Linked DNA regions of Homo sapiens: regions 2, 3 and 4 are each linked to region 1. The links are contacts of gene promoters, found by promoter capture Hi-C in human tissues and cell types (Jung and others, 2019). All regions are on one chromosome and are shown on one strand. The core of a region is centred on a gene start or on the middle of the fragment in contact, and the rest is flanking DNA. Distances in the headings are between cores, read along the strand shown.

What was found. The method cuts DNA at HindIII sites, captures the fragments that hold promoters and counts their contacts. A contact is called where the count stands out against the background at its distance.
Region 2: a fragment that was not itself captured here is called in contact with the fragment with the promoter of IP6K1 in region 1 in 2 of the 25 tissues and cell types used here (IMR-90 fibroblasts and lymphoblastoid cells).
Region 3: a contact is called between a fragment that was not itself captured here and the fragment with the promoter of IP6K1 in region 1, in 2 of the 25 tissues and cell types used here (dorsolateral prefrontal cortex and thymus).
Region 4: a fragment that was not itself captured here is called in contact with the fragment with the promoter of IP6K1 in region 1 in 1 of the 25 tissues and cell types used here (lymphoblastoid cells).

The regions. Positions count from the first base shown.
Region 1 is chr3:49,783,299-49,790,700 of GRCh38, reverse strand. It overlaps IP6K1 (inositol hexakisphosphate kinase 1), which reads left to right and starts at 4,159. Exons shown (of 6, transcript NM_153273.4): 1 at 4,159-4,347. RefSeq lists silencers at 2,306-2,515, 3,296-3,460, 4,196-4,545 and enhancers at 3,636-3,705, 3,792-4,481. The HindIII fragment of the contact is 27,523 bases long and covers 1-7,402 here.
Region 2 is chr3:50,035,274-50,042,675 of GRCh38, reverse strand. All of the region lies in intron 6 of RBM6 (RNA binding motif protein 6), which reads right to left. Among named protein-coding and RNA genes, the nearest start is that of RBM5, 50 kb to the left of the region's middle. The HindIII fragment of the contact is 5,977 bases long and covers 692-6,668 here.
Region 3 is chr3:49,556,603-49,564,004 of GRCh38, reverse strand. All of the region lies in intron 1 of BSN (bassoon presynaptic cytomatrix protein), which reads right to left. Among named protein-coding and RNA genes, the nearest start is that of BSN, 5.8 kb to the right of the region's middle. The HindIII fragment of the contact is 7,034 bases long and covers 1-6,829 here.
Region 4 is chr3:50,003,586-50,010,987 of GRCh38, reverse strand. The region is part of intron 6 of RBM6 (RNA binding motif protein 6); the gene reads right to left. Among named protein-coding and RNA genes, the nearest start is that of RBM6, 67 kb to the right of the region's middle. The HindIII fragment of the contact is 3,646 bases long and covers 2,976-6,621 here.

The DNA of each region.
Region 1 (7,402 bases), core at 2,910-5,409:
GCTCTGAAATCTGTGCCTCCTTGTTCTCACTTGGACAACTCCCTACCTTGTGAGCAGACTCTAGGGAGCAGTAAGGTTTTCCTTTTCTCTTTCAGGGTTTTTTTTTTTTAGACAGGGTCTCACTATGGTGCCCAGGTTGGAATGCAGAGGCTATTCATAGGTGTTATCATAGCACACTATAGCGTCTAACTCCTGGCTTCAAGAGAGCCTCTCATCTCAGCCTCCTGGGTAGCTGGGACGATGGGCGCACCACTGCACCTGGCTTTATTTTTCTTTTAAGAAGGTATTGTGTGATGCTCAGACTGACAGTGTGACTGATGCTCTATAGAAGTAATAGGCTATCATCCTTGTCAGTGACTGAGGGGCCTCCAATCAGCATGTCTCCTCAGGGCCACCTGCTTCCTTTTCCTATCCAGAAGAGAGAGAACAATGCTGCGTGTGTGTGTGTGTGTGTGTGTGTGTGTGTGTGTGTGCGCGCGCGCGCGCGCATGTGTGTGAAGGAGAGAGGGGGCGGGGAGAGGGAGAGAGGGGGAGAGAGAGAGAGAGAGAGAGAGAGAGAGAGAGAGAGAGAGAGAGAGAGAGAGAGAGAAAGATAGGGTCTGGCTGTCTGGCTTTGTTGCCCAGGCTGGAGTGCAACGGTGTGATTGTGGCTCACTGTAGCCTTGACCTCCCAGGCTCAATCGATCCTCCTACTCAGAATCCCAAGTAGGTGGGACTACAGGCATGGACCACCATGCCTGGCTAATTTTTAATTTTTTTGTAGAGATGGGATCTCTCTATGTTGACCAGGCTGGTCTTGAATTCCTGGGTCCAAGCCATCCTCCCCCTTCAGCCTCCCAAAGTGCTGGGATTATAGGTGTGAGCCACCGTGCCTAGCTCACTGTTGCTTTTGTTGTTGTTGTTGTTGAGATGTTTCTCTTTTTAATTTTTTTCTTAATTTTTAATTTTTGTGGGTACATAGGTGTATAAATTTGGAGGTACATGAGATGTTTTAATAAGGCATGTAATGGTTAATAATCACCTCATCGAAAATGGGGCATCCATCCCCTAAAGCATTTATCCTTTGTGTTACAAATAATCCAATTATACTCTTTCAGTTATTTTAAACTGTACAATTAAGTTATTATTGACTACAGTCACTCTGTTGTGCTATCAAACACTAGGTCTTATTCATTTTTCTTTTTTTTTGGTACCCATTAACCGTCCCACCTCCCCACCCCTTCCAGACTCTGGTAACTATCCTTCTACTCACTATCTCCATGAATTCAATTGTTTTGTTTAAATCTTTTTCCTTTTTTTTTTTTTTGAGATGTAGTCTTACTTTGTCACCCAGGCTGGAGTACAGTGGCACGATCTTGGCTCACTGCAACCTCCGCCTCTCATGATCAAGCAATTCTCGTGCCTCAGTCTCCTGAGTAGCTGGGACCACAGGTGTGCACCACCATGCCGGCTAATTTTTTTATTTTTTATTTTTAGTAGAGATGGAGTTTTCCTATGTTGGCCAGGCTGGTCTTGAACTCCTGACCTCAGGTGATCCTCCTGCCTCAGCCTCCCAAAGTGCTGGGATTACAGGCATGAGCCTCCGCACCAGCCAATCTCACAATCTCATTCTTTTTAATGGCTGAATAATATTCCATTCTGCATATGTACCATATTTTCTTTTCTTTTTTTTTTTTTTGAGATGGAGTCTCGCTCTGTTGCCCAGGCTGGAGCACAGTGGCGTGATCTCGGCTCACTGCAAGTTCCGCCTTCTGGGTTCACGCCATTCTCCTGCCTCAGCCTCCTGAGTAGCTGGGACTACAGGCGCTTGCCACCACGCCCGGCTAATTTTTTGTATTTTTAGTAGAGATGGGGTTTCACCGTGTTAGCCAGGATGGTCTCCATCTCCTGACCTCATGATCCGCCCGCCTCGGCCTCCCAAAGTGCTGGGATTACAGGCGTGAGCCACCGCACCCGGCCCATATGTACCATATTTTCTTTATCCATTCACCTGTTGATGGACACTTAGGTTGCTTCCAAATCTTGGCTATTGTGAATGGCACTGCAGCAAACATGGAAGTGCAGATATCTTTTTGATATACTGATTTCCTTTCCTTTGGGTACATACCCAGCAGTGGGATTGCTGGATCATGTGGTAGCTGTATTTTTAGTTTTCTGAGGAACCTCCGAACTGTTATCCACAGTAGTTATACCACTGTTGCTTTTTGAGGGTCCCATCAAACTTCAGGGCAATTTGCCAACTGTATGTGGAGGTTTTCTTGGGAAGGATCTGGAGCTTTTGCACTGCGGTGAGGGGTGATGCAGACTTGAGAATCCTGTGGCATGGCTGGTCCTGGAGGATTAGCAGAATCCCCCTTTTGAGGGTTGTTGGCTTTTCTTCCTGATCTGTTTCTTCTGGTTCCTCTGCTCTCACATCTCCCTGTGTTGACCTGAGCTATTGCATGTAGCCAAGTGGCCTGCAGCAATCTGCTGGTGGGCAGGTCTTGCTGGATGCAGTGTTGGCCCACTCTCCATGCCCAACCTGACATCAGGTCTCAGGCTTCTGCCAGCTCTCCAAGAGGACCTTACTGTGGTAAATCCAAGTTATCACAGTCTTTACTCGTCTGTTGAGTCTGTGGGCCTGAACCCCCTCAGGGTACTGGAGAACCTCCCTTTTTTTTTTTTGAGACAGAATTTTGCTCTGTCACCCAGGCTAGAGTGTGGTGGCGTGATCTCAGCTCACTGAACCTCTGCCTCCCAGGTTCAAGTGATCCTCCTGCCTCAACCTCCTGAGTAGCTGGGATTACAGGCACCTGCCATCACGTCCAGCTAATTTTTGTATTTTTAGTAGGGACAGGGTTTCACCATTTTGGCCAGGCTGGTCTCGAACCTCTGACCTCAAGTGATCCACCTTCTTTGGCCTCCCAAAGTGCTGGATTACAGGCATGAGCCACTGCGCCTAGCTAGGAGGACCTCCCCTTCTGAACCAGTTATGGTATCCCAGGGCCAGGAAGAAGCTGAAAGCCTTCTGTGGGAACAAAACAAAGCAAAACAAAAACGCTTCATGGGGCTTCCACCAAAGTTAGTGTTTTAAGGCACGCCTCAGGAACAGCAACTTGGAAGCAGGTTGTTCCAGGAAGTGGTTGTAGGCAGATTTTTCCTGAGTTCTTCCCCTGCTCTGAGGGCTCATTAAATCTTCCTCTGAGAAGCTCCACTTTTATCTTCATTTTACAGATGGGACAACCAAAGCTAAAGAGAGGCTAAGGCTCAAAAGTCAGAGTTAGCTAGTTGGGGCATTTGGGTGTGGGCCCAGGCCACGTAACTTCATCTGTTGTTCTAAGCCTGAAGCCAAGCCCAGAGTTAGGTGTTCTGTATGGGGAGCAAGGTGTGACCATCTTCCTGGGACCATTAGTCTGCTTGGGAGGCCGGTCATGACAGTCCAGGGCAAAAGATGCTGTCACAGGATCTCAAGACAAGATGCTCTAGGGAAGAGAAAAGGGAGTGCCCGCTGTGTGTCAGGACTTGTGCTAGGCTCTAAACCTCAGGCAGGAAAGCATGGGCAATGAGCCAGAGGCTGCTGTGGCAGCACAGACTGCGGTACCTCGAGGCTAGTAAGGGACAAAGCGTGGGAAGCTGGGATAGAGGCTCCTCACACTCTGAAACCAGCAGGAGGAGGTGCGAGACCCAGCACCTCCATTTCTAGAGGTGGCGTGACCTTGGCTCGGCCTCCCCTCTCTGAGCCTCAGTTTCCTCTCCAGAGTGAACTGGGGGCTGCACCCCCCTTCTCCCAGAGTGGGGGACAAAAAAACGAATAGCACACCGCTGAGATTCCCTGTGTGTGCGCAAGTGTATGACAAGACGCCGCCGGTACCGCACGAGGGCCAGGGACGCAGAGAGGCCAAGGGCGCTCCGGCCTCGTAGTAGCCAGCGAAAACTCCGCCGCCAGCCACTCCGGGAACGAAGCGCATGCGCCAACCCATGCCGTCACAGTCACGTGCCCCACGCTTTCGGCAGAGGCCCTGAGAGGCAGACTCTGACTGACACGTGAGCTGACCTGTCAGCAGGAAGCACTTCCCCTGGCGACGAGCAAAAAGACTGTTGATTGGGGATAGCACCCCCTCGGGGGCGGGTTCTTTGCAGTCCTGGTTACTATGACGCCCGGCCCCCGCCCCCTCGGCTAGCCGCCATCTTGTTGTTGATCCGTACCCAGTGGGCAGCGCCGGGAGCTGGACCAAGCGGCCGGTGAGAGGCCGCTGTAGCGGTGCTCAGCCACCTGTGCTGCCTGCCAGGGGGCGGGCCGAAACCTGGAGGCCCGGGGGGCCCAGCTCCCGTAGGGAGCCGTGGGCGCTCGGTGCCCGGGCCGGGCAGGTGAGTGACAGGAGCCGGGCCGATAGACCGGCCTGACGCCCGCGGGGAGGGCGGTGGCGGGCGCGGGGTTGGAGTGGGCGCGTGTGGGGTCGGGGCTCCGGTGGGGCCATCACTGGAACATCGCTCGAGCGTCCTGACCGGCCGCCCGCCGAGCCTCCCAGATGCTGGCACCGAAGCCGGGGGGACAGCCGGTGTGGAGGACGGAGAGCGCCAGTGCCTGAGGGTTGGCCGGCTAGTAGCGGGAAACCAGCTTCTCTGACCGAAGCTCTGGACTCCGCTGATCCGGAGCGCTAAAGTGTGTCCGGTGCCACCCTGATGCTCTCCTGGGAGTTATGTTGCTCCTGGCTGAGAAATAGACTTACCTCTTTCTTAGATAGCGTTCCTGCGAGTGATTTTCAGGACGCTGGATGCTAAGACTAGACGAAGCAAGCCAAAGCCCCCGCGAGCCAGGCAGGCCGGTGTCACGGCCCTATGATTATGGCAAGGGGGACCCTCTGCCTGGCTGCTGCTTCCTGAGACCCGTTCGGAACCTCACGTGTACCTCGAAGCTCACCGTTTTCCTCGCAAAGAACCTGGTTAAATGTCCATAATGGCTGAGTTTTATTTTGGAACATAATTTCTTTGGTTCTTCACCACCACTTTTTGGAGAGTGGTAATGTCTTCCTCTTTTTGCTTTAGGAGAAAGTGAGTATTATGGTGATGACTTGATTTTATCTCCTAAAGGGATGCTCGCCATAGGAGACAAAGGAAACGTAGGAGTGTCTTAGAATCGGAAAAAGAAACTTGTTTTTGTTGTGGATGATATGGAACTGGCAAATTAACTGTTTTTTTTCTTTTTTTTCTTTTGAGACAGAGTCTCTCGCTCTGTTGCCCAGGCCGGAGTGCAGTGGCGCGATCTCGGCTCACCACAGCCTCCACCTCCCGGGTTCAAGCGATTATCCTGCCTCAGCCTCCCGAGTAGGTAGGACTACAGACACGCGCCACCATGCCCGGCTAATTTTTGTATTTTTAATAGAGACGGGGTTTCACCATGTTGGCCAGGCTGGTCTCGAACTCCTGACCTCGTGATCCACCCCCCTTGGCCTCCCAAAGTGCTGGGGTTACAAGTGTGAGCCACTATGCCCGGCGCAAATTAACTTTTAACAGTACTAAAATTATCTTGCTCAGTGAAAACACCTTCAAGCCCCTTTCCTGTGAATTTGGGCAAGTTGGAGATCCTCAGTAGAGTGTGCAGGTCTAGGAAGAGTTCTCATTGCTCCAAAACACATTTCTCTTGACCTGTGGCCTCTTTGGTTCTTTGTACAGTCTTCTTGTATGTGGTCATAGAATATGCCTGCATGAGATGACTAAGAAGTCAAGCGACAATACTTTGTGCACTTTTTGTTTTGTTTTGTTTTGTTTTGTTTTTTTGAGATGGAGTCTTGCTCCGTTGCCAGGCTGGAGTACAGTGGTGCCATCTCGGCTCACTGCAACCTCTGACTCCCTGGTTCAAGCAATTTTCCTGCCTCAGCCTCCCGAGTAGCTGGGACTACAGGCACGTGCCACCACACCTGGCTAATTTTTGTATTTTTAGTAGAGACGGGGTTTCACTATGTTGGCCAGACTGGTCTCGAACTCCTGACCTCATGATCAACCCGCCTCCGCCTCCCAAATTGTTGGGATTACAGGCATGAGCCACCGCGCCAAGCCTACTTTTTTTTTTTTTTTCTGAGACGAAGTCTCGTTCTCTCACCCAGGCTGGAGTGCAATGGCACAATCTCAGCTGACTGCAACCTCTGCCTCCTGGGTTCAAGCAAGTCTCCTGCCCCAGCCTCCCAAGTAGCTGGGATTACAGGTGCGTGCCACCATGCCCGGCTAATTTCTGTATTTTTAGTAGAGACCTGGTTTCACCATGTTGTTCAGGCTGATCTCGAACTCCTGACCTCCTGATCCGCCTGCCTTGGCCTCCCAAAGTGCTGGGATTACAGGCGTGAGCCACTGTGCCTGGTCACGCGCCTAGCCTACTTTGTGCACTTCTATCAGGATCTTGTCACCTCTGAATGTATAATTTTGAAAGAGGCCAGGTGCGGTAGCTCATGTCTGTAATCCCAGCACTTTGGGAGGCTGAGGCGGGCGGATCACCTGAGGTCAGTAGTTAAGAGATTAGCCTATCCAAAATGGCAAAATCCCATGTCTACTAAAAATACAAAAATTAGCTGGGCGTGGTGGTGCATGGAGGCTGAGGCAGGAGAATCACCTGAACCCGGAAAGCGGAGGTTGCAGTGAGCTGAGATCGCGCCACTGCACTCCAGCCTGGGTGACAGAGTGAGACTCAGTCTCCAAAAATAAATAAATAAATAAATAATAAATAAAATAATAATTTTGAAAGAAACCAGCTCCTTGGTCAGGAGATCCTTTAGGAAAGCAGGTGCTGAACCCAGAGGACGCTGGCAGCTTGTTGCTGTTCGACTGAGTTTATACTGCACTTGTGAGGCAAGGGAGAAGTTGAGTAGTCTTTAGTTATTTATTTCATTGTCCTTCAGGGCCATTTTTTGAATCTTTAGTTCATTATAATCTTGGTAAGACCAGTTCCTTGGGCAGTTCTTGAAAGGAGGGGGATATTAAAATATTAGCTTTTCTTTCTTTCTTTTTTTTTTTTTTTGAGACGGAATCTCGCTCGGTTGCGCTGGCTGGAGTGCAGTGGCATGGTCTTGGCTTACTGCAAGCTCCACCTCCTGGGTTCACGCCATTCTCCTGCCTCAGCTTCCCAAATAGCTGGGACTATAGGCACCTGCCACCATGCCCGGCCAATTTTTTTGTATTTTTAGGAGAGACGGGGTTTCACCGTGTTAGCCAGGATGGTCTCGATCTCCTGACCTCATGATCCGTCTACCTCGGCCTCCCAAAGTGCTGGGATTACAGGCGAGAGCTACTGCACCCAGCAAAAATATTAGCTTTTCAAAATTGTCCCAAGCCCCTGCTTTTTTTTTTTTTCTGAGACAGGGTTTCACCATGTTGGCCAGGCTGGTCACTCCTGACAGGTGATCCACCTGCCTCAGCCTTGGCCTGGGATTAC
Region 2 (7,402 bases), core at 2,431-4,930, 250 kb before region 1:
CAGCCTTGACCTCCCAGGCTCAAGCAATCCTCCTACCTCAGCCTCCCTAAGTAGCTGAGACCACAGGTGCACACCACCATGCCCAGCTAATTTTTAAATTTTTTTGTAGAGATGGGGGTCTCACTATGTTGCCCAGGCTGGTCTCAAACTCCTGGGCCCAAGTGATCCTCCTGCCTCAGCTTCCCAAAGTGTTGAGATTACAGGCGTGAGTTATGGTGCCCAGCCTCAAGGATTCTTAAAATACTGGGAGGTACAAGAGAAAATGGAAAGAAAACATTTCTGGACAGCAGCTTTGCATCTTTGTTAAAGATCTTCAATGCAAGCTCAGTTGTAGTTATACTTTGTACTGAGAAAATGATTGCTGTGTGATCTTCCCATTACAACACAGAAAGCGATAAACAGTATCAAAAGGCAGGGAAAAAGTATATGAGCTTTGTGAATACAACTCACATTGAAAAGTCACAATTACTCTTCATTGTTTTGTGTTTCTTCCAAACACAGTATGGGAGTATCAGGTTATTGGTGGCTGAGAACTGGTACTGTTTATCAGAGATAGTATCTTTATTCACAAAGCAATTTACAGTTTACAAAGGCATTCTTCACAATATCATCTCATTAGATCCTTACAAATAGGGCATATGGATGGCTGGGATACATGGAGTAGTCTGCCCAAGAATACAGAGCTAATTAGCAACACATACAGTACTAAAAGTCAGGTTTTCTTTTTGCCATATTGTCTTTGTTTTTAAATTCCAGAGAGTCAGTCCATTCATGACACTTCCCACATCAAAGAGGTAGCTTCTGATGAAAAGATACAGTAGAGTCTAAAGAAGTTTGCAAGAAATGGACTCATAGGGAGTTTTTAGAGAGACTGCCACAAAGCCCTTGTTTCTTGACAGCACTGCCAATCCCTCAAACTGGTCTGCTTAAGATGGGCTTTCTGTTCTTAAAACACCTACAATTGCTTTAGGTGCTGTGTCTAAGATAAAGAGTGCTACTAGTAAATGGCTGCTACCAGGAGTTTCAAGAACCATGTCAAACGGACCTGCAGAAAGAGCAAAGCCCGGGGAAGAAAAGTAACAGGTTTAAAACAGATGTGTCATTTCTCTTAGTATAAAAGATTACTTTTTATAGAAATCCTTTGTAAAGCAGTCAGGCTCATTCTTTATGGTACAAGGATATGTTATAGTTCAAATATTTTTTAAAACCCACTATTCCCAAAGGCCAAACCAAAATGAGATAGAAGAGGGAAGGAGGAGATGGAGGAAGAAAGAAAGTACAGTGGCTAAGGGAAGTACAAAGAATGCCCTATGTCAGCTCTATAGCTCTGCCTGTTGGCCTTCTCCATGTCCTCCATTTTGACTAGACTTTTTACCCAACAGGATCTGAGCTGCACTTTGAGCATCCAGGAGATAAGGCCCCACTGGGACTTCCAGTGAAAACACAATCCTACTTCAGTGTCCAATGTAAGGTTGAGGGGCATGAAGACACTGCCCTGTCAGCTGCCACTTCCTATCTTTTCTTGACTAGATGAAAGCACAACAAAAACTTTTACTAAAATGTTCTTGACAGCAAACGTTTTAGACTATATGACGCCAGCAACAACCAGCATCAAGCCAAAATCTTATTTGTGTTCTCTGAAGCAAAACGGCTGACTGTTTCACTGAGCCCCAGAGCCCCACCCACTAGGATCAGAGCTGGCAGAAGTCAGGGTCTCAAGATGAACTCTGCGGCTGGGCACAGTGGCTCACGCCTGTAACCCCAGCATTTGGGGAGGTCAAGGCAGGTGGATTGCTTGAGCTCAGGAGTTCGAGACCAGCCTGGGCAATGTGATAAAACCCCGCCTCTACAAAAAATACAAAATGGTAGTGTGCGCCTGTTATCCTAACTACTCCAGGGGCTGAGGTGGGAGGGTTGCTTGAACCTGTGAGGTCGAGGCTGCAGTGAGCCAAGCTCACGCCATTGCATTCCAGCCTGGGTGACAAAGTAAGACCCAATCTCAAAAAAAAAAAAAAGAATTCTGCTCTGGGAACACAATACACTCCAAGCCAGACCCTGACATAAGAAAATGTAAATATACACATATATATGTATATATCTATAGATATACATGTGTGTGTATATATATATGCATGTGTGTGTGTATATATATACACACGTGTGTGTGTGTGTGTGTGTGTGTATATATATATATATATATATATTTTTTTTTTTTTTTTTTTTTTTTTTTGAGAAGGAGCCTTGCTCTGTCACCCAGGCTGGAGTGCAGTGGTGCGATCTCAGCTCACTGCAAGCTCTGCCTCCCGGGTTCATGCAATTTTCCTGCCTCAGCCTCCCGAGTAGCTGGGACTACAGGCACCCATCACCACGCCTGGCTAATTTTTTGTATTTTTAGTAGAGATGGGGTTTCACCGTGTTAGCCAGGATGGTCTCGGTCTCCTGACCTCGTGAGCTGCCCACCTCGGCCTCCCAAAGTGTTGGGATTACAGGCGTGAGCCAGGGCACCCGGCCGAGAACTTAAATATTTTAAAGGTGTCTGGTGCTAAGAATATATTCCACCCACTTCACTACCACTCCTTGCAGGTCTTACATGCATTTTAAAGTAAGATTCAGGTTCTAGAAAATGCCTCCTATCATGATGAAAGAAAACCAGGGATCCGTAGTCTTGGAGGTAATTCCATGAACTTGGCTCCAGGAACATAGAAAGAACAGTGCCTACCAGGGGATCCACACGTCTCTCCTATTCTAAGGTTCCATTACATTTGTATTTGCGGCAAAAACAAAGAGGCAAAATATATAAATAAGCAAGTAAGTAAGTAATCAAAAGAGCCTCAAATCTTTTCTCTCCTTGTGAGAAGACAAGACTCTATCATAAAGACTGAGACTGTGAGGCAGACAGGGCATTCAACAAATTCCTTCATCACAGAATCTCCGTAGATTGCTTCTTACAATTTATAAACTCCAACTATTAGCACTCAGAACAACTGAAAAACTGAACCACTAAAATGCAGATTTTTAAAAAACTTTTCAGCTTGTTATAATTTTGTATCTTTTAGAGCAATGGTTCACCTAACATTTATAAAAACCTTAGTCAAAATTTCTCTGGTTAATAATTTATTTCCGTATGCTGGGTGCGGTGGCCCATGCCTGTAATCCCAGCACTTTGGGAGACCAAGGGTGGGGGGGGGGGGGGTGGATCACCTGAGGTCAGGAGTTCGAGACCAGCCTGGCCAACATGGTGAAACCCTGTCTCTACTACAAGTACAAAATTAGCTGGGTGTGGTAATGGGCGCTTCTAATCCCAGCTACTCGGGAGGCTGAGGCAGGAGCATCGCTTGAACCTGGGAGGTGGAGGTTGCAGCGAGCCGAGATTGTGTGATTGCACTCCAGCCTGGGTGAAAAGAGCGAGACTCCATCTCAAAATAAATAAATAAATAATAATAATTTATTTTCACACAAAGATATGGCCTAATTCTTGGTGGAAGTAAAATATCACATTTTGACATATTTTACTGATAATTCTCAGAATTCCCTTCAGAATTCAGAATTCTATAACCTCTATCTTATTTTTTTCCTCTTTCCTGAGTTGATTCCAATCACATAGCAATGAAATAAAAATACTCACAAAGTAGAATATGTACAGAAACAAGATACAGCTTGTTCTTTTCTGACAATTGAATCAGTTAACCCTAAAATAATTATGAGGTATGTAGGGCAAGGGCTTTTAGTCCCAGATAAAAGAGAGGCTCTCTCCTACTGCAATTAGGGACATCCCCCACCTCAACACAGAGTGAAGGGCAGCTGATTTACATCATTTCTTTTCTTCTTTTTCTTCTTTTTTTGGGGACGGAGTCTTGCTCTGTTGCCTAGGCTGGAGTGCAGTGGCGCGATCTCGGCTCACTGCAAGCTCTTCCTCCTGGGTTCACGCCATTCTCCTGTCTCAGCCTCCTGAGTAGTTGGGACTACAGGTGCCGGCCACCACACCTGGCTGATTTTTTTTGTATTTTTAGTAGAGACGGGGTTTCACCCTGTTAGCCAGGATGTTCTCGATCTCCGGACCTCATGATCCGCCCGCCTCGGCCTCCCAAAGTGCTGGGATTACAGGCGTGAGCCCCTGTACCCGGCCTGATTTACATCATTTCTATAACACTTTTATATTCTGAGATGACTACTATTGGAGCTCCCTGGCTCTTTTCTTCTGGAAAAAGTAGACTCTAAATTCAACATCAAGGCATGCTTCATTGAATAGGTCTCTAAACTGAATCACTATAGAGAAAAACAAATAGGGAGTTTGGTAAATAAATGTGGAAAATATAAAGCTTCTTAATTTGCTTTGTTTACCAAAGAATATAATAAAACTATTCCTTTTTCTTAAAAACTTAATGGCAGGAGGTGGTAGAGAACAGCCAAGAGAGCAGACTGAGGCCCACAAGACCTAAGATACTGTACAGGCCTCACTGCTGAGCCCATCACAAAGCCTGCACAGTATTCCCCAGGCATCCCCAAAGAACCAGCAGCTATTCTTCAGGATCCACCATCCAAAAGAGACATTGGAACCGGCAGCGGTGGCTCACACCTGTAATCCCAGCACTTTGGGAGGCTGAGGCGGGTGGATCACCTGAGGTCAGGAGTTCAAGACCAGCCTGGCCAACATGGTGAAATCCCATCTCTACTAAAAATACAAAAATTACCCGGGCATGGTGGCGGGCGCCTGTAATCCCAGCTACTCAGGAGGCTGAGGCAAGAGAATCACCTGAACCTGGGAGGTGGAGGGTGCAGTGAACCAAGATCGTGCCACCACACTCCAGCCTGGGCAACAAGAGCAAAACTCTGTCTCAAAAAAAAAAAAAAAAAAAGGAAAGAAAAGAAATTTGCCACGCATGGTGGCTCATGTCTATAATCCCTACACTTTAGAAGGTCAAGGTGGGAGAACTGCTTGAACCCAGGAGCTCGAGACCAGACCAGCTCAGGGAACACAGTGAGACCCCATCTCCATTGCTATTAAAACAAAATTTTTTAATGGGAAAAAAAATAAAAAGAGACATTATTTCTACTGACCCTTTATCTATCACCTCCCACCCAAGTACTTGAGCTTCCTCAAAGGTATCTTTAGCCCCTCTGCCTGTAACGTCCTCAAAGAGTCTTGCTGACTTGATTTCTGCAGAAATAGTGCCTTGAAAATATTAATAAAATACAGAGCCTCTGGACTTCTGAATACATACTGTTCAACTAATATTTTAGGGAGGTGACTATGCCCCCCTGCTTTTTTTGAGACAGGGTCTTGCTCTGTCACTCAGGCTAGAGTGCACTGGTGTTGTATGATCATAGCTCATTGTAGCCTTGATCTCCTGAGCTCAAGCAATCATCCCACCTCAGCTTCCTGACAAGCTGGGACAATACGTGCATGTCACCAAGTCTGGCTAATTTATTTTATTTTATGCAGACATGGGGTCTTCCTATGATGCCCCGGCTGGTCTTGAACTCCTGGGCTCAAATGATCCTCCTGCCACAGCCTCCCAAAGGGCTGGAATTACAGGTGTTAGCCATCATGCCCAGCCAATTCTCTTCTTAGGCAGAAAGCTATTGACCCAATGCCACTTAGAAGTACCAAGACTAAGAATGGAAGCTTTTTGGGAGGCCAAGGTGGATGGATCACGAGGTCAAGAGATCGAGACCATACTGGCCAACATGGTGAAGCCCCGTCTCTACTAAAAATTAAAAAAAAAATTAGCTGGGCATGGTGGCATGAGCCTGTAGTCCCAATTACTTGGGAGGCTGAGGCAGGAGAATCACTTGAACCCAGGAGGCGGAGGCTGCAGTGAGCCAAGATCGCGCCACTGCACTCTAGCCTCGCGACAGAGCAAGACTCCCATCTCCAAAAAAAAAGAAAGGAAGCTTTAAGTCAGAAAAGGTTCACTGGGATACATGGGATACAAGGTTAGGTCCCTAATCCTTTTTGTTCTACTTATTTTCACAAGCAAATAACACAAAGAATTATCAAACTTCAGCCCTTGATAAAAATGAGGGCTGGCTTCTAACATTGAAGACATGCTATGGTTAAATTAGCCAATATTTGGAAAGCAGCATTTACTGAGCTATAATATCATGGCTGCTACAATATAATGGCTATAATATCTTAACTTTTTTTTTTTTAACAGCAGATATGTATAGAGTGAGGGAATGATTCCTGCACGAAGAAGAAATTTGTAGTAATCCAGGAGTTAGGGAGAAGACAAAGCCAGCATGTCACTAACTATATCCCTGCTGGAGTTGGGATCATGTGCTACAAAGGCATAGCCCATAGCTAGTCATCAAGAAACTCTCCTGATCAGACCTGTATGCCTTGGCAATCTATCACAGACGTAACCCTTGGATGCCTTTAAACTCCATCAGACGTTAAGACATACCATCCAGTTTATTAAAAGGCATCTCTTGTAGTTTGTAGGCTATAAAAAGAAAATACGTTTAAAAAGGGAGACCCTGCTGGGCGCAGTGGCTCATGCCTGTAATCCCAGCACTTTGGGAGCTGAGGTGGGCGAATCAACTGAGGTCAGGAGTTTGAGAACAGCCTGGCCAATATAGTGAAACCTGGTCTGTACCAAAAATATAAAAATTGAGCTGGGCGCAGTGGCTCACGTCTGTAATCCCAGCACTTTGGGAGGCCAAGGTGGGTGGATCACAAGGTGTGGAGTTCAAGACTAGCCTGGCCAAGATGGTGAAACCCTGTCTCTATTAAAAATACAAAAAAATTAGCCAGACATGGTGGTGGGCACCTGTAATCCCAGCTACTCAGGAGGCTGAGGCACGAGAATTGCTTGAACCTGGGAGGGGAGGTTGCAGTGAGCCGAAATCACGCCACTGCGTTCCAGCCTGGGCAACAGAGTGAGACTCTGTCTCAAAAAAAAAAAATTTTTTTAAATAAAATCATAAAAAGGGAGACCTTTGAACAGTATTAGGAAGCATGCTGAAGTTTCTTTTTTATTTATTTTTTTTTGAGACGGAGTCTGGCTCTGTCGACCAGGCTGGAGTGCAATGGCATGATCTCAGCTCACTGCAAGCTCCGCTTCCCAGGTTCACACCATTCTCCTGCCTCAGCCTCCCAAGTAGCTGGGACTACAGGCACCCGCCACCATGCCCGGCTAATTTTTTGTATTTTTAGTAGAGACGGGGTTTCACCGTATTAGCCAGGATGGTCTCGATCTTCTGACCTCGTGATCCGCCCACCTCGGCCTCCCAAAGTGCTGAGATTACAGGTGTGAGCCACCGCACCCTGTCCTGAAGTTTCTATTATACAGAGTAGCCTGTAAGTCTGGCTTTTCCAGGGCAGTTTTAACTGCTCTCTATCCTGTTGAAAGGCTATGTGTTGGTGCACTTGTCTTTCAGGTCACCTGCTTGGCCCTCT
Region 3 (7,402 bases), core at 2,063-4,562, 230 kb after region 1:
CAGCCCTGGCACGTGGCAGGTACAGTGAGCGCCTGCTAAACCTGTGAGCAAAAATAAGTCAGCGGTGCTGGAGAGCAGAGCCAAGACCAGCAGATAGGAGGTGTAAGGAAACCTGATTCAGACAAACAGGAAAAAAGAACTCTCCAGCAGTAGAATCATCTGCCTGAGAAGAACCAAAGGCCACTGATCTTGGGTGTTCACACCAAGGGAGAGCTGTAGCCCCTACAGAGTATGACAGCAGACATTCTGGCATTTGTTGGGGGTTGGATACAATGCTCAAAATAAAAGGATATCAGAGCAAACATATAACCTACTGAAGCCAAACCACACTTCGGAAGGAAGCAGCCTCACATACCGGACTTTGACATTGGAGGAGATCTGGCCTGAGCCCACAGAACCCACACAGCTGCAGAAGCTGCAGAGAGAACCACATGTATCTCTTCATTCTACAAATGAAGGAGTCTGCCCAAACTGGAGTCTGAAGATCTAAAGTCTCTTTCAGGCTAGCCCTTCCCATGCCCCACCCTTCCCCATCACAAAGCGTTTGCCAACCCCAGCTCCCCTGGAAATCATGGCCCACTGGCTGCTGCCAGAGCACCTGTAGGAAGTAGGTGGAACAACACTCAGGAGATAAGCAGCCGAGCACAGCTGAGAACAGGGAGCCTGCAGCAGGCTCTGCAGGTCTGGGTAGGAGCCTTGCTGGCTGGCCAACCAACCCAGCACAAGGAGGCCATCAGTTTTCCGAGAGCCCCTGCCTACCAGAAGCAACCCAGAGGTGGGTTGCCAGCCAGCCCCGCCCCTGGCTCCAGGCTTGAATGTGCAGTCATCTTGTCCATTCTGAAAAATCTCTGCCACACAATGGAAGAGCAAGCCTCTTCATTTAGAGCTGCTACAAAGTAAACTAAAAAGTGCACAATGTACTTTTGATTTAGACCTTGTTTTCTATGCTCAATAGAGCTGAAGAAAAATGGGAAGCATCACCCTTCCTTTTTACACATTTCACAGAAATCAGCTGTCAGAGCTGGAAGGGACTGTGGAGATCATCTAGTTAAATCTCTCATTTTACAGATGAAAAAACCAAGGACATACCCAACGTGCATAGCCAAGTTTAGGCAATGCCAGGATTGATTAAAACCTGAATTTCTGACCCCCAGCCAGCATGCTTCCACTATTCTTCTTCCTCCACATCATCCTACCCTGCCCTTTGCTCAAATGTCCTACTTTCTGACCCTTTCCCACTCCTCAAAGCCTTTCCCATCATCTTGCTAAATCTCCCATCTTCACAGAGGAGGAGGCGGGGAAGTGACACAGTTCTCCACAGCATTCGGCATTTTGGTTTGCTAAAGTCTGCTAGCTGGCTGTTCTTCTACATCACTCCTCTTAGGCCTTTGGAGCTTCCCAACAGAATACGTGAATGTTATGAATGTGTTTTGTAAGCTGTAAAATACCATACAAATATATGCTCTACTATTTTAGAACATGAAATAATGCAACCCCTTTTAATCATACTCTCATTTCTCTTACCTCTGTGAGACAAAGAGAAGGCAGGAGCAAACTCTAATTTAAGGAAGAAGAAGTTGAGGCTAAAGATCTGGACAAGAGTTCTCTCTCCCCACACCATGGGCCCCTTTAGGGCAGAGCCTATTTTATGCTCCTTCTTTTATTCCTCACACTTCACCCAGGGATAGGTATCCAAAAGATGTTCAGCAGAGTTTCCTGAATACATGGATAAAATTTCACTTTAAAATTGTTCCATTTCTATGTAGAATCTAACTGTAAAAATCCCCACAAACACTCCCATACACAAAAAAGTGTAGGTGACACAGTAGGAGGTAGAAGGGAAGGTTGAGGAGATGTTTCAGTTAGATAGGAGGAATAAATTCAAGAGATCTAGGCTGGGCATGGTGGCTGGCTCACACCTGCAATCTCAGCACTTTGGGAGGCTGAGGCAGATGGATCACTTGAGGCCAGGAGTTCAAGACCAGCCTGGCTAACATGGTGAAACCCAGTCTCTACTAAAGATGCAAAAATTAGACGGGCATGGTGGCACACACTTGTAATCCCAGCTACTCGGGAGGCTGAGACATGAGAATCACTTGATCCCAAGAGGCAGAGGTTGCAGTGAGCTGAGATCACGCCACTGCACTCCAGCCTGGGCGACAGAGTGAGACTTTGTCTCAAAAAAAAAAGAAAAGAAAAAATAACAACAACAAGAGATCTACTGTACAACACGGTGACTATAGCTAACACCAATGTATTGCATTCTTGTAAATTTCTGCTAATAGATTTTAAGCATCCTCACCACAAAAATGGTAAGTATGTTAAGTCATGACTATGTTAATTCACTTGACTTAGCCATTCCATAATATGTCATAATATGTACATATTTCAAAACATCAGGTTGTATATAATAAATATATAGTGCATAATTTTTGTCAATTTAAATAATTAATTAAAAAAATTTTTTTAATGGGAGTGACCCTTGTTACCTGCCTGCAAACACAAATGTAACAGTGTAACTATTAGGAAATTTCCTCACCTACCCTTTCTCCCAAGAACCCAAATGCCTTAATGGTTCTTCCAGCATCTTTGGGAGGTTTGGCTCCCCACACAAGCCAGTGGCATTGAAGAGCTCGGGCTCCTCTGGATACAGGGGTTAGTCCCAGATAGGACTGGGTGGGGTGATCCTTGCTGCTGAGGCTCTTGGATCTCCTCAGTGTTTGGGACCAAGATCCAAAAGCCATCCCTTCTATTTCCCCTCAGGGAAAATCTCTTCTTCACCGTTGGCCCTGACAGCAGCCTCACCCACTTTAGGGGCAACCAGGCCTCTCCAGGCCATTCAAGATTTGATCTGATCCTGGGGTGATCTAGAGCTCCCTGGAGGCTTCCCATGTGCCTCCATGTGACCCTCTTGTTAGAAAGAAGTAGGGGCCCCAGGTCTCTGCTAGAGCAAAGCTCTCTTTAGAACCCTATGTGCCCGTAAAGACGAATAATAGGAAGGAGAGATCACAGCAGCCCTGTGGCCAGCCTGGGAGCCCAAGGCACAACACAGATGTGTCAGGGAGTATCCCATTCCACAGCAGAGCTGACCAGAACCTAAAATATAAGACAAATGGGCCAAGAGAATGCTAGGGGGCAACAGACCCCCACTAGAAGCCCGATCTGTACAGAAGGAACCACAGAGAGTGAGACACCAAAATTCTATCACCCCTACCACAGGCAGGAGCCCACAGGCCAGTGTCCCAATTCACTCCACAGCTTCAACCACTGTGCTAGTGAGAGGAGATGGCAGAGGTCCCTCCAGAAAAGGAGCTCGGGCAAGTGCTACAAATGCAGGATCAATACCAGCATGACATGCTCCTGGCACCAAATGAAAGGACTGAGCAGGAGTCCCCCACAGCTAGATTGTTCACCAAGTCCCAGCTTACCCAGAGGGCCTCATGTCCTAAAGTGACAGTCAGCCCTTGCTGTAGGCATGCAGGGCTTAGCCACCATTTTACCATTTAAAAAGTCAGTCCCCAGGCAGTAAGTAAAGTCAGGACAGGCAGGGCCTGCAGAAGCTGAATGGCCAAGCAGGTGGAATAAGAAATAAAACACCTAGCAGAATGTCTGTGATGAGGCAGTCATTCAGTAATGGTAGTCATAACTGCTATTACAGTGTTGCCAACCTACCTTCACAGTTAGCCCCAACTTACTGCACATGGCCCACAGGCTCCAGCAACAGGTTCCCCTCACATAGCCCACACATAGTAGGTCTGGCCTTCCACACCCCCACAACTAACAAGAGGAAAGGGCCCAATTCAGAAATGCAGGACCTGTGATAAGGGGAAAGATTTATTAAGCCCCCAAATGTGAGTAGGAGGCTTCCTACTCACATATGCAGGGAGGGCTCCCCCACACTGGGGTGAAAGGCATGACTTTTCTGGGGGAAAAAAAAAACAACTTTCCTCTGAAAGCTTTGACTTCTTAAACTCAGAACCAAACTGACTCAGAGGAAGGAGATCTTTAGAAAAGGAACAGAAAAGTGGTCCACTGCATTGTTCTTTGGCTCCCAATTAGCCCAAACCCTGGTTCTGCTTTCAGTGAACTCTCAGCCTCTCCATGTCTGAAGCCTTCAATAAACTCTTTTTTAAAAAGCTAGAATTTCTTGACCAAAAGAATAAAATTTGAATCTGATTAGCTTCTAGACAGAATTCTCAGTTTACAAGAAAAACATGGGACAGAGGAACATCTTAAATGACACCACAGGGATGCAATCAGCATAATCCTGAATATGAGAAACCACAGGACAAATGTCATAGTTCTCTAATAATAAACTGCAAGGAGCAAAAAGGAGAGAAAATACATAAAGAAACTAGACAGATGCATCAGACAAATTCAATGTGTAGACCCTGTTTAGATCACAATTCAAACCAATAATAAAAGTAAATTCATAAGACAATCAGAAAAGTAGAATCCTGACTGAATATTTGCTGAGTTTAAGAAGAGATCATTATCTTATTTAGATGTGGCTGTGGTGCTGTGGTTATGTTCATGCAAAGCCCTTATTTCTTGGAAATACAAACTGAAATACTGATGATGAAATTTTGGGATGTCTGGAATTTGCTTCTCTAGGGGGTAGGATGTGAGAGAGATAAATTAAACTCAATTGGCCATAAGTTGATGATGGCAGTGGCTAAGCAATGGGAACACAAAAGTTCATTAGACCATTTCCTCTACTTTCATGTATGTTTGAAATTTTCCATAGTAAAAAAAAAATGTTTAAGATAGCATTTCTCGGCCAGGCACAGTGGCTCATGCCTGTAATCCCAGCACTTTGGGAGGCTGAGGCGGGCAGATCACCTGAGCTCAGGAGTTTGAGACCAGCCTGGCCAACATGGTGAAACCCCGTCTCTACTAAAAATACAAAAATTAGCTGGGTCTGGTGGTGGGTGCCTGTAATACCAGCTACTCAGGAGGCTGAGGCAGGAGAATCGCTTGAACCCGGGAGGCAGAGGTTGCAGTGACCCGAGATCGCGCCACTGCACTCCAGCCTGGGCGACAGAGCAAGACTCTGTCTCAAAAAACAAAAAACAAACAAACAAAAGACAGTATTTCTCCTCCTAATGTCTCCATTACATTTTTACATTTTTTAAATCAACAGCACCTTATTAGTCTTAATGATGCTGTGAGCAACTGTATTATCAAAAGTAGCCTGCTTTCCCTGGAGAAATGCAAAAATGGTTGCCCTCTGGGTAAAATTTTGACATCGTCACCATTCAGATGTAAGGTCACTTTAATTCACACTCCATGACATACCCTCTGTGAGATCCAGCCACTGGGGACAAAGAAGATCTCTAAGTGACAAAGGAGCATTATTTCCAGACCTGGCAATTATGTCCTTTCATTTTATCTTTACAAGTTAGTGCCAGATTTTTCTAGAGGCTGAGTTGGCTGATATAATGTAACAAGTCTGACTAATCCCAGACCAGAGATACTATGCCTGACAAATCCATTTTGAAAAAGGAATTCGGGGTATGGTTCTCAGAGCAGCCTTGCCCACCTTCCAGTAAACAACCAGGTTCTCTGTGCCTAGCTGCCTTTGGCTTAGGGTGTCTGTCTCAATAACATATGGGCCAGGAGTGAAGAGAGGCGACTTTGGCATTGATTACGCATTCTGATGGGCAATGATGGAGAAGGGCCTCTGTTGGCTTTGCCCTGGCTTTCCCCCACCACCCTGCACTCAGCCTCATTCTCTGCTCACTGTCCCTGCCTGTGTAGACCACATTCTTTATGCCATTTATCTCTATCTCTACCTCTCTTAACCCAGTCATTTTTCCAGCCTTACATCTCTACCTCTCCTAAAGCTTAGCTGTGCCTCTCCACTCTTCCCAATTAACAACCCTGTAAGCACTGCTTATTTGACATTTCTCAGATACTGAGCTGCCCACAGTGTCTCTCTTAGGGTTCTTCCATGATTTGGCTCTTCAAGAGCTATCTGACCAACCAGTCTGTGAGGTGCTGAAGGACAGGGAAGCACTATATATCCTTTCCATACCATCCACAAAGCCAATAACTGTGCTTGCTCTTGACAGCTGACAAATACACCTTAGCTGATCGACTAGATATCAATTTGCAAACATCAAAACATGTGCAAGTTGGGCCGGGTGCAGTGGCTCCCGCCTGTAATCCCAGCACTTTGGGAGGCCGAGGCAGGTAGATCACAAGGTTAGGAGATCGAGACCACGGTGAAATCCCATCTCTACTAAAAGTACAAAAAATTAGCTGGGTGCGGTGGTGGGCGCCTGCAGTCCCAGCTACTCGGGAGGCTGAGGCAGGAGAATGGCGTGAACCCAGAAGGTGGAGCTTGCAGTGAGCGGAGATCGTGCCACTGCACTCCAGCCTGGGCGACAGAGCGAGACTCCAACTCAAAAAAAAAAAAAAAAAAAACTGACAGGTGCAAGTCCACAGAGCTGGTGTAAACTAGACAGGCTGCCACTGGTCTACATGGCTCCTTCGTGTAATTATTTTAAAAAGTACTTTCTGGGGTACTGATAAAGTTCTGTCTTGATCTGGTAGTGTGTCACGAGTGTATGTATAAATAAAATCCCATCAATATGTGTGTTCCACTGTACATTAGGCATATCTCCATAAATAAGTAAATGAATTAACGAGTGAATGATGCCCCTTCATCTAAGAGGATGCAGCCTACACCAGGGCACACAGCTTGGAGAGTGGAGCCTGGGTTAGAGTTCAGCTTTCTCCCAAACCAGCACTCCTTGGAAAAGGCACAGATTATATAATTGTACATGGCCACCCTGACACCAGAAGCAGAGAGCCCTTCCTTGAGGGACTCTCCAATGCCCAAAGCTCCACATCATCCCGACGGGCTAAGAGGCACCACTATGGGTGTGGCAGCACTGCTACTCATGGGATTCAAGTCAGGCTCTTCAGCAGCAAATGCTGGAGCCACCCCCTCACAGAGTCCAACTCAGCTCAGTATGAGGATGAAAAGACTAATTCAGCCTGGGATGACAAGGTAATATGGCAATAGCATTTAACTCCCCCAGAATCATCTCCCTTTTACCTGGCCTTCTACCCACCTCTATGAGGTTTCTGACTGCCCCGAAATTCAAAATCTTACTGAAAGCAAATATGTCTTTGTGCTAATGCTCTTTCCTGAATGCCCAGAAGCACATTCACAGGGCTTTTTCCCCATCAATGGGCCAATCTGTTCAGCAGCATCTTAGAACATGCTAAATTTGGCATCAGGTATCTGAGATGCTCTAGTGAGAGGAAGTAGAAGCCATTGCAATACTAAAGGAGAGATAAGCCATGGAGCTGCTGCTCAGCTGAGGTGCTATGATAAAATGAATATCAGCTGGAGGAGTAAATCCCACCTCCTAATGGTCTCTGGTTCTGA
Region 4 (7,402 bases), core at 3,549-6,048, 220 kb before region 1:
AATGAATCTGTACTTTATTTTAGATCTGGACTCATTCCCATTGTGCTGGAACCCTAAAAAAACTTTTTTTTTTTTTTTTTTTTTTTTGAGACAGTCTTGCTCTGTCGCCCAGGCTGGAGTGCAGTGGTACAATCTCAGCTCACTGCAACCTCTGCCTCCTGAGTTCAAGCAATTCTCCTGCCTCAGCCTCCCGAGTAGCTGGGACTACAGGAACACACCACCATGCTGGGCTAATTTTCGTATTTTTGGTAGAGACAGGGTTTCATCATGTTGGCCAGGCTAGTCTAGAACTCCTGACCTCAGGTGATCTGCCCGCCTCAGCCTCCCAAAGTGCTGGGATTACAGGTGTGAGCCACCCTGCCTGGCCTTAAAAAAAGTTTCATACTACATTTAAAGACTTTTTTTAAAATTGAGATAAAATTCACATACCATAAAATCCACTGTTTTAAAGTATATACAATTTAATGGCTTTTAGTACATGCACAAGCTTGGTCAACCATCCTCACTATTTAATTCTAAAATATTTTCCTCATCCCAAAAAAGAGACCCTGTATCAATCAGTTATCATTCTCTATCCTCTCCTGCCACCCCCCGACTCCCCGGCCACCCTTGTGCCCAGTAACCACTACTCTACATCCTGTGATACACCACCTTTTCTCCTACATATTTTCCTTTGGAAATAGCATTTGCAAAGATTAAGCACAAATTTCACTTGACCACAGATTTTGGTAATATATACATCATTAATATACAAAATTAACCTCACAAATCTCACCCTGTGAGATTAAAACTAATTATTCTGGCTGGGTGCCATCACTCACGCCTGTAATCCCAGCACTTTGGGAGGCCGAGACGGGTGGATTGCCTGAGGTCAGGAGTTCGAGAGCAGCCTGGCCAACATGGTGAAACCCTGTCTCTACTAAAAATACAAAAATTAGCCAGGTGTGGTGGTGTGCCTGTAATTCCAGCTACATGGGAGGCTGAGGCAGGAGAATCACTGGAACCCGGGAGGCAGAGGTTGCAGTGAGCCAAGACTGTGCCATCGCACTCCAGCCTGGGTAACAAGAGCAAAACTCTGTCTCAAAAAATAAATAAATAAAAATAAAAATAAATAATAATTATTCTAGGCTGGGTACAGTGGCTCACATCTGTAATTCCAGAACTTTGTGAGTCTGAGGCAGGACTGCTTGAGTCCAGGAGCAAAAGGCCAGCCTGGACAACACAGTGAGATCTCATCTGTACCTCCCCTCTACCCCCTCAAAATTAGCCAGGTGTGGTGGCGCACACCTGTAGTCCCAACTATTCAGAAGGCTGAGGTAGGGAGGATGGCTTGAACCCAGGAGGTTGAGGCTGCAGTGAGCCATGATCATGCCGCTGCACTCCAGCTTGGGTGATAGAGCAAGACCCTGTCTCAATAAAATAAAATATAAAATAAACATTATTCTAGATAAACTATCAGTTCATCAATATCCTTAACAAGAAATGTGCACACATAATCTATGCACTAGAGGATGAATGACAACACTTAAACACCTGTGGAGAGGGGGACATAAAGATATACTGTAACCTCCAAGTTCAACTTGAATGAAGAAGATACCTAATAACACTCAATGTCACCTGCAGCCTACAAGAATTTTCTGATAAAAGAACTACCTGCAATGCTACCTGCAGAAACAACAGGCTGTTTACTGTAGGAAGGCAGGTATGGTCATGGTCTTCTGCCCTCACATGCCTGAATGCTTGTGCACTCATTCCTTAGACACTTCATGACAGGTGTTAGCCCAACTCTCTTGCTGTCTGTCTAGAAATCCCGAGAGGTCCTGAACAAAAGCACTATGTGAACTGGCTGTCTAAAATCAAGCTGCCACCCAAAGCAGCACTGCCTGCCACTTTCAGCCAACTCTGAATCCCAAGAGGTGGATAAGGAGCCAGGGAAAATGAGAAGTTGGTACAACCAAGCAGAGTCCAGTGTTATGAATCACCCTTTACTACAGAGCACTTACCACATGCCAGTTATCATGCTGATCACTTTACATATACTACATACTCTAACCTCACAACTGCACTATGGGTGGTATTATGATCATCCTCTCATTTTACAGATGAGAAAACTGAGGTTCAGAAGTTACAAAAGAGAGGCCAGGCACGGTGGCTCACGCCTATAATCCCAACACTTTGAAAGGCCAAGGTGGGTGGATCACCTGAGGTCAGGAGTTCAAGTCCAGCCTGGCCAACATGGTGAAACCCCATCTCTACTAAAATAAACATTAGCTGGGCGTGGTGGTGTATGCCCGTAATCCCAGCTACTCGGGAGGCCAAGGCAGGAGAATCGCTTTAACCCGGGAGGTGGAGGTTGCATTGAGCCCAGATCACACCACTGCACTCCAGCTTGGACAACAGAGCAAGATCCGTCTCAAAAAAAAAAAAAAAAAAAAAAAAAAGTTACAAAAGAGCCAGGAGGTAATGAAGCTGGAATTCTAAATCTTTCTGTGCTACGAACCCTATACCATCTGAACATACATAAGGTCATAAACCAAAGTTATAATCAAGATGGCTAACTGAACTATGCCTTTGTACGACCCCTGAACTAATGAGATGTGACAACACTGAAGCACGAGGTTAAAACATATAGGTATATTTCCAATTTAGAACAAATTAAGAACTAAACTACTTTAATCCATAGAAATAAACCATGATTTGTGACAAAAATAATTATAAACCCATTGTAGGACACATATCAGAAGGTTCCCTTAAAACTGCCAAATGATAAATGTTTATTTTTCAAATTCGAGAGAATTAAAATGAGTCGTTTAGAGCACCTCTCATAATTAAAGAGCCTGAGATGTGGCAAATAATGGGCTGGTTATCAGAGCTTAGGGTGTTTTGCTTTGAGAGACAGCATCTCATTCTGTTGCCCAGGCTGGAGTGCGGTGACACCATCACAGCTCACTGCAACCTTGAACTCCTGGGCACAAGTGATCCTCCTACCTCAGCCTCCAGAGTAGCTAGGACTACAGGTGTGCACCACCATACCCAGCTAATTTAGAACTTACGGTTTTAAAGCCACAGGCTAGATTTCCTACATGGCCTAAACATACTCCATGTGGTACTGTCTGTCTCCTGCTCTTTCTCTTTAGAAAATTTAAGATTCTTATGGCCGGGAGAGGTGGCTCACGCCTGTAATCCCAGCACTTTGGGAGGCCGAGGCGGGTGGATCACGAGGTCAGGAGATCGAGACCATCCTGGCTAACATGGTGAAACCCCGTCTCTACTAAAAATACAAAAAAATTAGCCGGGTGTGGTGGCAGGCGCCTGTAGTCCCAGCTACTCAGGAGGCTGAGGCGAGAGAATGGTGTGAACCCGGGAGGCGGAGCATGCAGTGAGCCGAGATCACGCCACCGCACTCCAACCTGGGCGACAGAGCCAGACTCTGTCTCAAAAAAAAAAAAGAAAATTTAAGATTCTCTCTTGAAGGCTAAGGCAGCAGAAACTCCTACTAAGGGCCGGACATGGTAGCTCACTCCTGTAATCCAGCACTTTGGGAGGCTGAGGTAGGCAGATCGCTTTGACCTCAGGAGTTCGAGATCAGCCTGGGCAATATGGCAAAACCCCGTCTCTACAAAAATACAAAATTAGCCAGGCACGTGTCTGTAGCCACAGCTACTTGGGAGGCTGAGGCATGAGAGTGGCTTGAGCCCCAAAAACGGAGGTTGCAGTGAGCCGAGATCGCACCACTGCACTCCAGCCTAGGAGACAGAATGAGACCCTGTCTCAAAAAAGGAAAAAAAAAAAAAAAAACTCCAACTAGGGAAGCTGGAAGGAGTCCCCTGATAATCCGTATCAATCAACAGGCTAAATGAGAAGTATTGTTGATGGGAAAAAAAAAAATCCTCCTAGGCACTGCCACCAAATCCTCTTTTTGCCATATACTCCATTAAGCCAAGACCAGAGCTGCTGTAACTTAAGACTTTGTTTCAGATGAGAAGTTGTGTGAAAACAACAAAGATGCACTCAACATTCACTTTGTGCCAGCCCCAGTTCTTTTTTTTTTTTTTTGAGATGGAGTCTCACTCTGTCGCCCAGGCTGGAGTGCAGTGGTGCGATCTCGGCTCACTGCAAGCTCCGCCTCCCAGTTCACGCCATTCTCCTGCCTCAGCCTCCCAAGTAGCTGGGACTACAGGCGCCCGCCACCACGCCCAGCTAATTTTTTTGTATTTTTAGTAGAGACGGGGTTTCACCATGTTAGCCAGGATGGTCTCCATCTCCTGACCTCGTGATCCGCCCGTCTTGGCCTCCCAACTTGCTAGGATTACAGGCATGAGCCACCGCACCCGGCCACCAGCCCCAGTTCTAATCACCTTACATGCATTAACTTATTTAATCCCTAGATGTGTGTGAGAGTACGTTAAAACACAGAGAGGTTAAGCCACTTGTTCAAGTACACCTTAGAAAGTGATGGAGCCGAAATGCAACCCCCGGTAGTCTGCTTCCAGAATACTATGTTATACTGCTACATTATACTGCTTCATGTCCAGTCGAGTCTCAATCACTGGGCTGGGCACAGTGGCTCACATGTGTAATCCCAGCACTCTGGGAGGCCGAGGCGGGCGGATCACCTGAGGTGAGGAGTTCAAGACCAGCCTGGCCAACATGGTGAAACCCCATTTCTACTGAAAATACAAAAATTAGCCAGGCGTGGTGGCACATGCTTGTAATCCCAGTTACTCGGGAGGCTAAGGCAGGAGAATCACTTGAACCCAGGAGGCGGAGGTTGCAGTGAGCACCTCTGTGCTACAGCCTGGGCGACACAGCGAGACTCCATCTGAAAAAAAAAAAAAAAAAAGTCTCAATCAGTGGATAAATCGCACCCCTGCGCTACAGCCTGGGCGAACCAGTGAGACTCCATCTCAAAAAAAAAAGTCTCAATCAGTGGATAAATAGCCAAAATGTGTAATCAAGTCATCGATCCTTAAACTCACTTTCAATTTTCTTGAATACCCCAACTCTCTTGAGAGCGAGACTCTTCAATAACCCTTGGTTTGTACTCATTAATTGTTTTAATTTTTTTTTCTAGCTAGGTTATGAACCTATACACTCATTTTAGAATGCAGTTCCCCATGTTTCTACTACTACCCTTCTGAGGGTGATAAGGAAAAAGTACTGAAATTGAAGTTTCCAGCAAGAATGGCATGATTCCAGCCATAAGTTATACAGTTGAGCTCTGGCTAGGATGCTGGATACTCCTCAATGAAGTGTTTTTGGGGTGATAGTTGTTTAGGTAACACTACAACCTTCAACCTACAGATTATTGGTTTTGTTGCTTGGAATGCACACAATTTAAGTACTAAAGTGTTTCAGATAGTATTATGTCTTTACTACCAATTTAAGTTTCCAACAAACTAGGTTCTTCAATTTTTTCCATCATGGCCTCACAAATAGCATTCTCATCACTAAAAACATAAGCTTTCTCTGTTGCTTTTTTTTTTTTTTTTGAGGCAGGATCTCTCTGTCGCCCAGGTTGCAGTGCAGTGGCACAATCACGGCTCACTGTAGCTTTGACCTCCCAGGCTCAAGCAATCCTCCCACTTTAGCCTTCCAAATAGCTGGGACAATAGGCATGTGCCACTACACCCAGCTAATTTTTAACAATGTTTTGTAGAGATGAGGTCTTGCTATGTTACCCAGGCTGGACTCAACTCCTGGGCTCAAGTGATCCTCCTGTCACAGCCTGCAAAAGTGCTGGAATTACAGGTGTGAGCCATCACACCTGGCTTCCCTATTGCTCTAATTTTAATCACAAGGACAGACCACATTTGAGATTTGGTTTCCTATATATACCTTCAAAAACACTCTTGTATCTTCAATAACCCAAACTCTCTTAATTTTGTTGACACACACACAAAAAAACACTATTTCATAAAACTTCACGTATTCCACAGCTTTCATTCCTCACACCAGAAAAAGTCAATGTTTAAAGGAATTTTCACATCAGATGATAACAGAACCCTTTTTCTTTGCACTTTAGAAAGACTGATAGTGTCATACAAAAAGGTGAGTAAGGCTGGGCGCAGTGGCTCATGCTTATAATCCCAGCAATTTGGCAGGTCCAGGTGGGAGGCTCACTTGAGGCAAGGAGTTCAAGAGCAGCCTGAGCAACACAGCAAGACCCCATCTTTACGAACAGAGTTTGTTATTTTTTTAATTAGCCGAACATGGTGGCAGGTGCCTGTAGTCCAGCTACTCAGAAGGCTGAGGTGAGAGGATTGCTTAAGCCCAGGAGTTCAAAGCTGCAATGAGCTCTCATCGTACCACTGTACTCCAGCCTGAGCAACAGAACAGAACCCTAAGTCTCAAAAAAATAAAAATTTAAAAATAGGCCAGGCATAGTGGCTCACACCTGGAATCCCAGTGCTTTGGGAGGCCGAGATAGGTAAATTGCTTGAGTCCAGGAGTTCAAGACCAGCCTGGGGAATGTTGCAAAACCCTGCCTCTACAAAAAAAAAAAAAAAAAAATAGCCAGCTGTGGTGGTGGTAGTTCCAGCTACTAAAGAGAACTGAGTTGGGAGGATCACTTCGGCACAAGAGATCGAGGCCGCAGTGAGCCATGATTGTACCACTACACTCCAGCGTAGGTGACAGAGGGAGACCTTGTCTCCAATAAGAGGAGAGGGGAGGGGGGGGAGGGGAGAAAAAGGAAAGAAAAAAAGAAAAAGAAAAAGGAAAGGAAAGGAAAGGGGAAAGGAGAATAAAAATTTCAGAGAAATAAATACCTCTCCCAGAGTTATCTTCTATAAGGGCACTTTAGTGACTAATTTGGCCAAATAATAGACAATAAGCATCACACCAGCATACTTGAGAACATAAAATGCTAATCCCTGCATACCAAATGCCAACAGTCTGAGAGGGCTAGTACTCACAACTGGGCAACCAATGAAAGGGATTAACATTTTAACACAATACTTCTTACTCCCCTCCCCAAGTCCCAGTGCAAGGGCACACAAAGCAGAAGGAAATAATATGTACCCTCAATCTCCCAGAGACTTGACAACAAAGAAAGCCAAGGGCATATGACAGGGCTAGAAATACACTTTGCAGGAAGGGTGGAACGAAAGGCTCTGCCTGACAGTGCTTGCTGGCTGCCCCCTTCTCCTAGACAGAAATGGTGATGGTACAGACTAACAGATTCATACCTTCATACCTGTTGGAAATTATTTCTCCAGATAGACAGCTGCTGCCTAAGTGATACCCTGATCGGTCACCACAGCCACAAAGCTCAGTACTGCTGCAGAGCATCCTACTGTTTAACAGCTTGATCTAGGCACCAGGAAAAGGCTAGAGGGACCTTGGTTATCATCTTGAGCAACTTCACGAAGGCACACATACCCAACAATATTTGACAAAG